Regions from separate parts of the Homo sapiens genome. Here region 1 is linked to region 2. The links are contacts of gene promoters, found by promoter capture Hi-C in human tissues and cell types (Jung and others, 2019). All regions are on one chromosome and are shown on one strand. Each heading gives the region's core, a stretch centred on a gene start or on the middle of the fragment in contact. The rest is flanking DNA. Distances are from core to core; before and after follow the strand shown.

Region 1 (6,151 bases), core at 2,796-5,295, 410 kb before region 2:
GGACCCATCAGCATTTCAGGCAATTTGCTTCCTTTACCAGGAGGGTCTCTGTCCTCTTACAACCTGGGAAAAAATAAGTTGTGTCCCAGGTTGTAAGTTTGCTTTACTTAGGCCCAAAGGAACTAAAGAATGGATATCAGAAATCTCACCCCAATTGTTTTGTCTTACAGGCACAGAATAGGTTCTAGCCTCAGCATTTTCATTAATGTAGTGTTTTTATTAACATCTCCATTAACTTGCTTGCAGCAATGAGATGGAATTATGCCTCCCACAAGGCCTGGGGCAAGATACTTGCATAGGTGCCCCCTTTTGTTTGGACAGTAGAAACACTGCCTCCCCTGCCATGGTGTTCAATCCAGTTGGCAGGTGGGCCAGCTTCAAAGTGCAGAAGGAACTGGGTGTGGTGGCTCACCCCTGTAATCCCAGCACTTTGGGAGGCAGGCGGATCGCTTGAACTCAGGAGTTTGAGACCACTCTGGGCAACACAGTGAAACCCTGTCTCTCCAAAAATACAAAAAATTAGCTGGGCATGGTGGCTGTTGTCTGTAATCCCAACACTTTGGGAGGCTGAGGCCAGTGGATCTCTTGAGCTAAGGAGGTTAAGACCAGCCTGGTCAACATGGCGAACTCCGTCTCTACAAAAAAATACGAAAATTAGCTGGGCGTAGTAGTTCCTGCCTGTAGTCCTAGCTACTTGGAAGGCTGAGGTGGGGAGGATCGCTTGAGTCCGGGAGGCAGAGGTTGCAGTGAGCGAAGATGATGCCATTGCACTCCAGTCTGGGTGACAGAGCAAGATCCTGTCTCACAAAAAAAAAAAAAAAAAAAAATGCAGAAGGTCCAGGGCCTGGCCAAGGGGATGATGCCCTGTAGCACTTTGCTTTGCAGGAAGGGAACAACTGTGCTGTGAATACCAGGATCCAGGAGGGAGGGAGGGTATATCTGTGTCCCCCAGCTAGGGACAAGGCTTCCTTAACCTTAGGTCCTCATGCTTATATTAGTTCTTCTCCAACAAAGTTTGACTTTGAGAAGAAGCTGGCACATGGCTGAAATGCACTCACGCGGTTGGGGGAAGAGTGTTCTTCCAGTCCTCCTCCCCACAGGGCCTCCTGCTTCTCCTAAGTACCTGTCATCAAAGGAGATGAAGATGAATCCCCCTTCAGCCCCCACACCTCAATGAGTTGTCAAGTACTCTCCCTCCCACTTGAATAGGAAGCAGGAGCAGCAGGCCAGGTTGCAGGTTGAGGAAGTCAGAAGTTAACTTGAGCTGAGTTTGCAGCTCTGGAGAGATTGAGGAGCAGACTTTTCTCTTGTCACTTTGGAAGGAGAGGATTGTGAGGCTGCCCCTTTAAATAGCATTCCCGTAGGAGGCAGATCACATCCATCCGTCACCTACTGCCAAAGCATCATTTTTGGTTTCTATCAAACTCAAAGCTTGTTGGAAAGGATTGTGGGGTTAGGGGAGTGAGGAGGCAGAGCCTCCTAGGGGTAGGGGGCAGTTTAGAAGCTGAAAAGGAGAGGAATGAGAAGGAGCCTGGGAAAGGTGGGGGATGAGGACAAGAGGAAAAGACAGGGAGAGAATAGTTGTCTTTTGAGCCTCAGAGTGGAACAAGTATACCCAATTCTTATCTGTTTAGAGACGCAGCAAGGTAGAAATGGGATTGTATTGCAACAAGAGGAATGAGGTTGAGACTAAACACCAGGACTGGTGACTAAAGAAAGTGAAAGGAGCCACAGAGTGAAAAAGGCTGATAGACTTGGCTCTGGTTTTATCACTTACTCTCTGTGAGACCCTATAATTTTTCTGGGTTAGTTTAGTTCTCATTTATTTTTATTTTTACTTTTTCCATCAAACTGTGTTGTCTATGAAGTTTTCCCATTTATTAAATGAAGGGAATTAGAGTGGATGAACTCTAATGTCTCTTTCACGAATAACTTTGTGTGTGTGTGCGTGTGTGTGTGTGTGTGTGTGTGTGTGTGTGAATTAGCCTTAAAATGAATCAGGAGCAGGGGGTCTTGGGAGAGCAGGATGTGACACTGTGTTAACAAGAAATGTTGAGAGAGCCCTCTGGATGTATGTCTTGCCTCTTTCCCACCTATTCTAGTTTAAAGACCTGCCTAAATTTGGAAACTCCTTAGCTCTAATCCTAATTTACTAATTAGAGCTCTTTAGCACCATCCTAATTTGCAATTCTTTTGTAGTTTCCAGCCCATTTCATTTTCAGTTGATAAGGAGGAGATTGCTCCCAAATTTTCAGAAATGGACTGTGTAGGAGTGTGACTAGGGTCTCAGATGCAGCCATTTCTTGGCTGGGTCTGGGGAAAAGCCAAGGGATGTGTGCTAAAGGTAGATGGACAGAGGGTGGGAAGTCCCTTATTATTTCCACTTTTTTCTCCATCTCTGACTCTGCCATCTCTTTCTGCCTCTGTACTTTCTGGGAGCTGGTTCTGCTGATACTTCTGCTGAATCTAAATGCTGACCTAACTTGGCAATTCTTTTATGTTAGGAGTCTTAGCTGTGACAGTTCATCCGCTTCTTCGCCCTTCCATTTCACTTCTTTTCTCCTTCTCTGACTGGGAGAGGAGGAGCCTCCACTCAGTATTTAGAACAGAGTAAATACCTTCTCCTGATCACTCCTCCTTCCAACCTCCAGAATTTTTTGAAATTAAAATTCACATTCTGGGATCCTGGATTAGTGGCCTGTTTTGGATTCAGTAGTTAGTGAATATATCTCCACTTTCTGTTGACATAGGAGTTTCCCCAATGCCAAAGCAGGTGGTCATTAAGGGAGAGAACAATATGGAGCAAGAGAGGTGGTTCCTGCAAGAGTCCTAGGTAGGACTCGGTTGGATGGAGGAGGCTTTGCCCTTTTACAAGGTCTTGAGTTCAAATTCCAGTTCACTCCTTCCACAAATGTTTATTAACCAGCTAGGCTGTTTTGTGCTGGGCCTTTAGCTCCTAGATTTCTTTCTCTGAAGACAGAACAGAAAAAATGAGCTGGAAGTGCTTCAGGAGGGGTTTTGATATCAGGAATGCTTTCCTGGCTGTGTAGAGTTATTACCTAGTCAAAGAAGAAGATGTTAAGCTGGGTGCGGTGGCTCACACCTGTAATCCCACCACTTTGGGAGGCCGACGTGGGCGGATCACGAGGTCAGGAGTTGGAGACCAGCCTGGCCAATATAGTGAAACCCCATCTCTACTAAAAAATACAAAAATTAGCCGGCGTGGTGGCCCGCGCCTGTAGTCCCAGCTACTCCAGGAGGCTGAGGCAGGAGAATCGCTGGAACTGGGGAGGCAGAGGTTGCAGTGAGCCGAGATCGCGCCACTGCACTGCAGCCTGGGCGACACAGACTCCTTCTCAAAAAAAAAAAAAAAAAAAAAAAAAAAAAAAAAGATGCCTGCTCTGGAGAGCTTTGAACTTGGAAGAAATTCCTATCTGCTAGGCGGGCAGGCAGAAGTACCATGGAGAAGGCCACAGTCTTGGAGACAGGTGGGGAAGATCAAGCTGAGGGACCCGAGGCCAAGTGTGGGATGCCATCACAGCTCAGGGCACACCCTGAACTTTTCCAAGACAGGAGCACAGGTGGGGTCTGGTCCGACTGGGTTCCGAGTCCAGATCTAGCAGGGAAAGATGTGTGCTCATCCCCTACCCCGCACTCAGACATGGGACACGCAGGCAGCTAGGCACACGTGGATACATGGAACCACAACCACATACACAGAAACTCAAAACACACGGAGAGAACCCACACAACCACCCACACCGAAGTCCAGCCCGCCGCCTCCGCTGCACTCTGTAAACACGCACTCACATCCGCCAGTACAGGGCACACGCAGCCACTCGTCCCCGGCGCCTGTGTGCGTGCGCTCGCCCTTGGGCGCTTCTGTCTGTGTGTGCCCCCGGCTTCCAATCGTTCCTTTGGGAGGGGGAGGAGTGGCTGTGAGGAGTGAGAGACTGGCGGGCAGGCTGAGGAGAAGGGAGGGAGAGCAGAGGGAGGGGGGAACCCGGCCGGGGGAGGAGGAGAGAGGCGAGGAGGCGGCTCTGGCAGCGCGCGGCGGCGGCGGCGGTAGCGGCAGCAGCAGCGGCGGTGCGGAGAGCTTGGACTGGGAGCCCAAAGCTCGGCTGGGCAGCGGGAGAGGAGGAGCCGCAGGAGCTGCAGCTCTGCCAGCTTGGGCCGAGCCTAGAGACACCGGCCTGGCTGGTCCACGCCAGCCGCAGGTGGGAAGGGCCTGGGATGGGGGGTGAGGGTCTCTCGGCTGGGGCTGAAGCTGAGCCGAGGTGCTGTCTCCTCCTTCTGTTCCGTAGACCGTGGCTGAGCATGGAGCTGTCCCCCCGCAGTCCTCCGGAGATGCTGGAGGAGTCGGATTGCCCGTCACCCCTGGAGCTGAAGTCAGCCCCCAGCAAGAAGATGTGGATTAAGCTTCGGTCTCTGTAAGTCCCCGGCCCGGGAATGGGGGGAAGGGACCTTAGGGAGCCTGAGCGGGAGGAGGAGGGGGGATAACTGGAGCAGGGCTGTGGGCTGGTAGATTCTCTTTGGCACAGATGTTGGCAGGTGCGAGGAAGCACGGCCCTGACACGCGTGGCCAGGCCACATGTGCAAGGCATGTGCGGAGCAAGCTGGCCAGTTGGAGCGGGCTTAGGAGTTGCAAAGGTAACGATGTGCCTGTGCCTGTGGACCCCAGGCTGACACACGCAGCGCCTAGAGGCAGCACAGTATATGCAGTGTGGCAGGGCTGCAGGAGGGCAGTAGAGGTGCCAGGCTGACTCACACATATCCATGTGCAGAGTTGTGCAGATGTGAGCCACATGACATGTGTGTGCATGAGTGAGCGTGGGTCACAGAGGTATGTGGAGTGATTGCACACAGCTGTAGATCTACTGCATGGGAATACTTGTGCCAACCTGTGGGTCATATGTATCTCAGTTGGGATTGGTAGTTTCTGCCTCATGCACAGGAAGTGGGGTGGGGGTTACCCCATGCCTGAGCTGCTCATCTCTTGGGGCCTGGAAACTCACTCTATGTATTAATGATGAGGGGACCCACGTGGAATCTGGAGGGGGGGTTGGAGCCCCCACCTGGAAGCTGAAGGAGGTGATGATGGTGAAGAAATATTGATTGACAAAGGCAAGGTAACTGGCTTAATCAGAGGCTTTTTGTTTATATAGGGTCTTCCAGGATCTCCAAGCACATTTGGGCATCTTTTCCTATTGTTGCAGTACCAGGGCATGTGGGGAGGAATAAATGGGGGAAGGAAGAACTCAGGTATCTGATACTCCAGTCCCAGGGGAGGAAAGGAACTTTTCCCCTGCTCCTTAGAAAAAAAAGAGGATTGGGTCAAAGACAAGCCATGCACCATGTTTATCTCCCAGTCAGCTGCTGCCATTGGGAAATCTCCGCAGTCTGTTGATTCTTAATCAGGGAACAAGAGAAGATGTCCCTCTCTCCGAGATGAATCCATGGCCCCAGGAAAGAGGAAACAGATAGGAGACTATGGATGTTTAGAGAGGAAACACAGTAAACATAGCCCTGAACCCAGTTCCTCCTCAATGTTCTCCATAGTGAGCACCGAAGCTTTCTATTTCTGGGTTCTGGGAGAGGGAGAGATGGGGGTAGGGGATGGATAGATGCTTATGTTGTATTGTTCTTTAAATACTTCACCTATGGTGATAAGATGACACCTTTTTATGGCAGATGGGTCTGATTTATACACTAGCTACTTGGAGAGGCGTTAGGGAGAACTGAGGCATAGTGGGCAACAAGGCTTGGAATCCAAATGTACTTCTCAGTCCTCCTCCTTGGCTGCCTCTGGCCAATCCAATTTGCTGGGCTCTATGAAGCACAGCCTTGGAATGAGTTCTGGGATGAAGAAATGGAAAACCAGATTGAACTGATTTTTGTTGGGAGGAGCACTGTGTGATTCTTGATAGAAAATGACGCTGCGTTAATGGTAAATGAGCTGGGGAAAGGGGCAGATAAGGAAGTAGTTGAAAGGTAAAGAAGGGCCCCAGGTCCATAAATGGGAGAATTCAGGATGGCTCCCCTAACACTAGTGGCTCATCATACTTACCTTGCCTGTATTCCAGGTAACAGGGCCCTGCGAAAGAGTGGGTATTACTAGTTTCACTATCTCCCACACATTTCTAACCAAAAG
Region 2 (5,508 bases), core at 278-2,777:
CATTTTCTTTGTGGTTGTAGCAGATAGGTGGTTAAAACTACAGAAAGATTAATTTTCATTAGTTTAAATAATAAATTACTGGCCAAACTATTTAAAGGTATAAGAGATATCTCTGAAAAAATTAATACTGAAAAACTCATATCTGGAGGAAAGAAATTTTAGCTGCAATAAATAACAATGTGAAATTCATTTCCTGCTTTGAGGAGGGGAGGGAGAGCTACCTTCATCAGACCACAGTTGCAGAAGGGAGCTCAGACCCTAAATGAGCATAGCTGTGAGGTACATTGAGGAGTCTGCTCTGAGTTCAATGATGTGGGCTGATTAGAACATAGCTGAAAGCAGGTGTTGGGATATTGATTTCCATGGCTGGTCCTCACCTGTTACAAAACTTCTACTACAATGAGTTTCAAACTTCAATATGCAATCAATTATCTAACCTAAAGATCTTGGTAAAACTGTGATTCATTAGGTCTGGGGTGGGGGCTGACAGTCCACATTTCTAACAAAATCCCAGGGGATGCTGATGCTCCTTGTATCTGTACACTACAGTTTGAATATTAAAGTTCTACACAATGTCTCCTGGAACAGCAGTTCTCAGACTGTGATTACCAGACCAGCAGCAATAGCATCACCTGAGAACTTCTTAGAAATGCAAATTCTTTGGTTCTATCCAGGCCAATTCAATCAGACACTCTGGGAGCTGGGATCTGGTCATTTGTATTTTAACAAGCCCTCCAGGTGATTGTGATGCCTGCCAAAGCCTGGGCATCATTGATCTAGAGAGGTATTTTCCAGCCATAATAGAATTACCTGGAAGCTTAAAATAATTAGTCATTGGTTTCCAATTAAATCAGAATTACAGAATGTGGGACCCTTTATTATGGGTTTAAAAAAAAAAAACCTTCCTCATTTGATTACAATGTGCAGCCAGGTTTGAGAACTGCCTGAGAGAGGCCCACTTACTTCACGAGTCTTTGCCAGCAAAAGTCTGGTGGTGGTGGGGGTGCCTGGGTCTGCTGGGCCAGCGACTCTGACTCTGCTCCTCCTCACTGTTGCTTTGCACCTGTAACCAAGATCCCACAGAACTCAGCCAGAGCCAAGGGGGAAAGGGGGTAAGGAAAGGTGCAGGTGGCAGGTAGCTGTAGGGGAAGGAGGCTGAGTGTACTTGAGAGACAGCCTCTTCTGTGGTGTCAGGGACACAGTAATGAGGAAGGCAGGAGCGGAGGTGTAGCTCTACATTCAAGGAGAGGTGACATACATGCAAATGATATTTCAAATAATCACGGCTTCTTTTTGTGGCAAGGATTTAAAAGCTTTTTAAAGAGATCCCAACACTTCATGGAAGTATCTTCCATAGACCCAGGCGAGAGGAGTTCTGAGTCTTAGAGGGTCAGAAGAGTTGGTGGACTTAGAGAACACGAAGAGTTGGTGGACTTAGAGAATGTGCCCACCTAGTCCTGCACTATTCCTTCTAGAACATTCTTTGGTTACCCAGAATCACAAAGTTTGCTGGTCAAATGGCCCCAAGCCGGTTGCAGGAATGTGCGCTGGTTTTGCCTGATGACTGTTCTCTCAAGGGCTGACCTCTCCAGTAGTGTATGCAGCCTAGGCCCAAATGATGACCAATGGCTCTTTGTGTAGGTGGGAGCTTGTGGCATTTGGATGTGCAGGCTCGGGTAACCAAACATGGACATGCAAGGTCCCTTATGGTATAGGACAGGTCTGGGCACTGGAAGATAAGGGAACAGGTCAGGAGCTGGGGAGTGGTTCTGCTCACACTGTCACATTTTAGCACAGAAGTCCTAACAGTCTGAGAATCCTAGATTGAAATCTGGACTTCTGGGTCTTTATGGTTAGATATTTGTCAAGGTAAGGGAGAATTTATTTTATTTAAGAGTGGTTAGCTTTGTGTAAAACTGCTCTCCATTTGTAATCTCATGAGGACCACAACAAATGGTGATGAGAGGTGTACTTAATGGGAACATTAAATGGCAATCAGATCAGGTATTACCAAAGGAGCTCTGAAAACTCGACTGCTCTTAGGAAACCAGGCCTCTGTCTCTTTCTCCCTGTATATTAACCCTGAATTGAAATCAGAAAGTGGTATATCTGGCTAGGACAGGAAGCCTGGATTATTTTTCCCCCAAGGGTTCTAACCCTTCATCTTCTGGGAAAGAATCTACAGCCTTTCTCTGCCAGTCTCTCCCTCACCTCCAACCCACTTACCTCCTCCAAGTCAAAAGTGTCCTGTGGCTGCTGGCTTAAAGACCGACGCAGTTCTGGTCTGTCTACACTCTGCTTCCATTTCTGCTGGGTGATGGACAGGTCCAAGGACTTAACCTTCCTGCCCATGAGATTCTTCTGGAAGAGGCTCTTTCTTGCTCTGCTCTTTCTTTTCCAGAAAGTCTCATCCTTGGCTGGATGGGTTTCCGTATTGGTGGCTGGTAGACTACACAGCTCTCTCCTTATCTGAGCTGGGTCTGTGCTCCACTGTGGATCTTCTATGGGCAGAGAATGTGTGCAACAGGGTACCTTGGGGTTCGAATCCAGAGTTTGGGATGGTGCTAGCACTGTGGACATCCTCTGCTGTGTTTCCTCTTCACAGCAGAAGACACATGGATAGGGAGAAGTGGGCAACTTCTTACCCTCAGCAGGGGGCACAGGATCTTCCTGTGAGAATTGCCCCAAATCAGAGTCTTGCTGGAGGAACTGCTTCTCTTCTTTCACTTTGTCCATCACTTCCAACACAACTTGGTCCAAACTGTTCCTTTTGGGGGTGTTGTGGGGTGGTGGTGGCCGGTCTCGGGGGCATGTGTACAGACACATCTTGGAGATGGCTTTCCGAAGGCGGTCTCTGGGTGACTGGGGTTCAGGCTCTCGGGACAGAATCCTGATGGATGGCACATCAGTTGGATGGTTGCAATTCCAGAACATGTGGGATGGTGTGAACTTTTGGACAGGTGTCTTAGACACATAGGAGTAGAGACAGAAGAAGGCATCAGCAGTGACAGCCAGTGTTTGCACCTGCTTAAACCTGCCTGGGTACAAGAGTTAAAGATGGTAAGTCTGGGGTTCATCAGCAAATCTTCTTAAATCTCTCCCTTCAGGAGGCTCCCCAAAGCTCAAAATTCAGGGAGAAGCTTCCAATTTTCCTACTAGTGTTTCTCCCTTTTAGATTTCTAACACTCTTTTTCTGGAATTTCGTAACTTCTTGACACCCCATCCCATGTAGATATTCCAACTGGGAAACAAAAAAGAGGGATAAGATTTATAGACATCATGCTGATATGATTGACTGAAAGGCAAGAAGGCCTAAAGGAAGCAGTAGTGGCCTGAAGTCTCTTAAAGGCTATTTCTTTAAGAGAAAGAATCAGACAGAGTTCTCCATCTTCACTGAAGACAACATAAGAGGAAATAGACACAATAGGCAAAGGGTTAAAGATAACCAAGAGAAAGCAGGATTTGAAGCCACTGAGCCCTGCTGTGAAAATCTAAAGGAAAAGGGAAGTAGAGCAGGTGCCTGGGAGGGACACTCACTGGCCAGCATGAGGCAGGGGTCTTCCATTTCAATCCTCCGCACCTGGGACTTCAGGAAGAGCTGGAAATCAATGCCCTTGGCCTGAGAGGGGGTGGTGAAAAATCGGGCGGGTATCCGAGAAGTGTCTTTGTGATCCTCTTGGCCAAAGCCCAGACTGAAGAGGACATCTTCTGCATCTTCTTGCACTTTGTCCAGAATTTCTGAGATGCTGAAATGAGGGAGTTTGGGTAAATAAGGGACAACTTTGAGACACATGGTAATTCAGAATATCAGAATATCTAATAAAAGTGTCAGAAGACTGAAATTCTTTTCTGTCCATTTCTCTACTTTTCACTGTGACTTTGAGAAAAGCTTTCACTTCTCTGAACCTAAATTATCTGTTGGAAACATGGAAACTACAATCCAACCCTAGTTATAAAAACTGAATAAAATTTTAGTACAGTACTTTGAACAACTTATTGCAGACGAATAAAAATTTAAGTAAATATAAAAGGATTTTGAAAAATAAGAGCAGCATAGATACAAATAAATTTCACAGTTGCATCATTAAGTGCTCAGTTCCCAAATTTGCCATCCGACTTGCCCCAGTGGTTGTTGCGTGGGACAACTAAGCAATGAATATGTAAGAAACATAGAACCCCTGAAGGTAAACATTTTTATTCTTGATCTTAGGGCAAAAAGTAATCAATAAGCACATCCAAAACCTGATTTTGAGAGGTATGCTCCTTTCTAGCACTATTTTCAGTACAGAAGTCCTGTGTCACAGAAGATCCCGTGCACGCACTCTCTCTTTATGGTATCAACCTGGATTTATGTCTAAATCGGAGTTCCACCAACTTGGGTGACACTAGAGCTTAGTAATTGTGTTTCAGACAGTGAGGCTAAGGGAAGCTGTTATTATTTGAGGCTTTGAATAATCACTATCACTCTCTTCAGAAAGTATGCTGGGCTTTTTGATCAAATAGGGACCATCTTGTTTAGCTAATAGCTGGACGGTCGGAATCCCTGGATCTACTCTTGTCCTTGCCAGCTTTTATCTCCATGGTCCTAAGTTTCCCTATCTGTGAATTGTGGGCGTAAAACTGGATCAGTGCTTCTCAACCATGGCTACATGTTAGGGTCACCTTTGCAGGCTTTAAAAATGCATATATTTGAATCCCATCTTCAGACATTCTGATTAAATTGAACTAGGGTATGAACTAGGACTAAGGCTCAGTGAGGATAAATTACTAAATTTGGTCATGTGACAAAATTTAAGTCTCAGAACCAGGTCTCAAATTCAAATTTTGACTTCAAATTTCAGATACTTTTCATTATATCATACTAGTTTTCCTGACTTTTCATCTTTTTCAAAGAGTTATTTGTGTGTATATTTTGTCCACCCTATGAAATCATTCAGCTCCTGGGATCAAGCTATTTGTCCGCTTCATCTTTTCTTTTTTTATTTTCATTTTTGTTTTAAGTTCTGGGGTACATGTGCAGGAAGTGCAGGTTTGTTACATAGGTAAACGTGTGCTAGGGTGGTTTGCTGCACCTATCAACCCATCACCTAGGTATTAAGCCCAGCATGCATTAGCTATTTTTCCCAATGGTCTCCCTCCTCTCACCCCATCCCCTGACAGGTCCCAGTGTGTGTTGTTCCCCTCCCTGTGTCCATGTGTTCTCATTGTTCAGCTCCCACTTAGACGTGAAAACATGTGGTGTTTGGTTTTCTGTTCCTGTGTTAGTTTGCTGAGGATAACGGCTTCCAGCTCTATCCATGTCCCTGCAAAGGACACGAACGCGTTCCTTTTAATGGCTGCCTAGTATTCGTGTATATGAACCACATTTTCTTTATCCAGTCTATCACTGATGGGCAGCTGGGTTGATTCCATGTCTTTGCTATTGTGAATAGTGCTGCTTCATCTTTTTCAAATTCCATACAGTCATTGCCTGGCCTGCCTGTCCGAATGAATTAATATTTTATTGCT

Evidence for each region. The method cuts DNA at HindIII sites, captures the fragments that hold promoters and counts their contacts. A contact is called where the count stands out against the background at its distance.
Region 1: a contact is called between the fragment with the promoter of PDE1B here and a fragment that was not itself captured in region 2, in 1 of the 25 tissues and cell types used here (adrenal gland).

The regions. Positions count from the first base shown.
Region 1 is chr12:54,545,556-54,551,706 of GRCh38, forward strand. PDE1B (phosphodiesterase 1B) reads left to right here and starts at 4,046. Exons shown (of 16, transcript NM_000924.4): 1 at 4,046-4,217; 2 at 4,305-4,430. The coding sequence starts at 4,318. It overlaps NCKAP1L (NCK associated protein 1 like), which reads left to right. Exons shown (of 31, transcript NM_005337.5): 31 at 1-2,688. RefSeq lists enhancers at 904-1,448, 4,596-5,224 and a silencer at 3,971-4,030. The HindIII fragment of the contact is 5,954 bases long and covers 1-4,995 here.
Region 2 is chr12:54,960,205-54,965,712 of GRCh38, forward strand. TESPA1 (thymocyte expressed, positive selection associated 1) reads right to left here. Exons shown (of 11, transcript NM_001136030.3): 8 at 3,538-3,746; 9 at 2,227-3,038; 10 at 964-1,063. The coding sequence ends at 965. Among named protein-coding and RNA genes, the nearest start is that of TESPA1, 22 kb to the right of the region's middle. The HindIII fragment of the contact is 3,973 bases long and covers 1-3,514 here.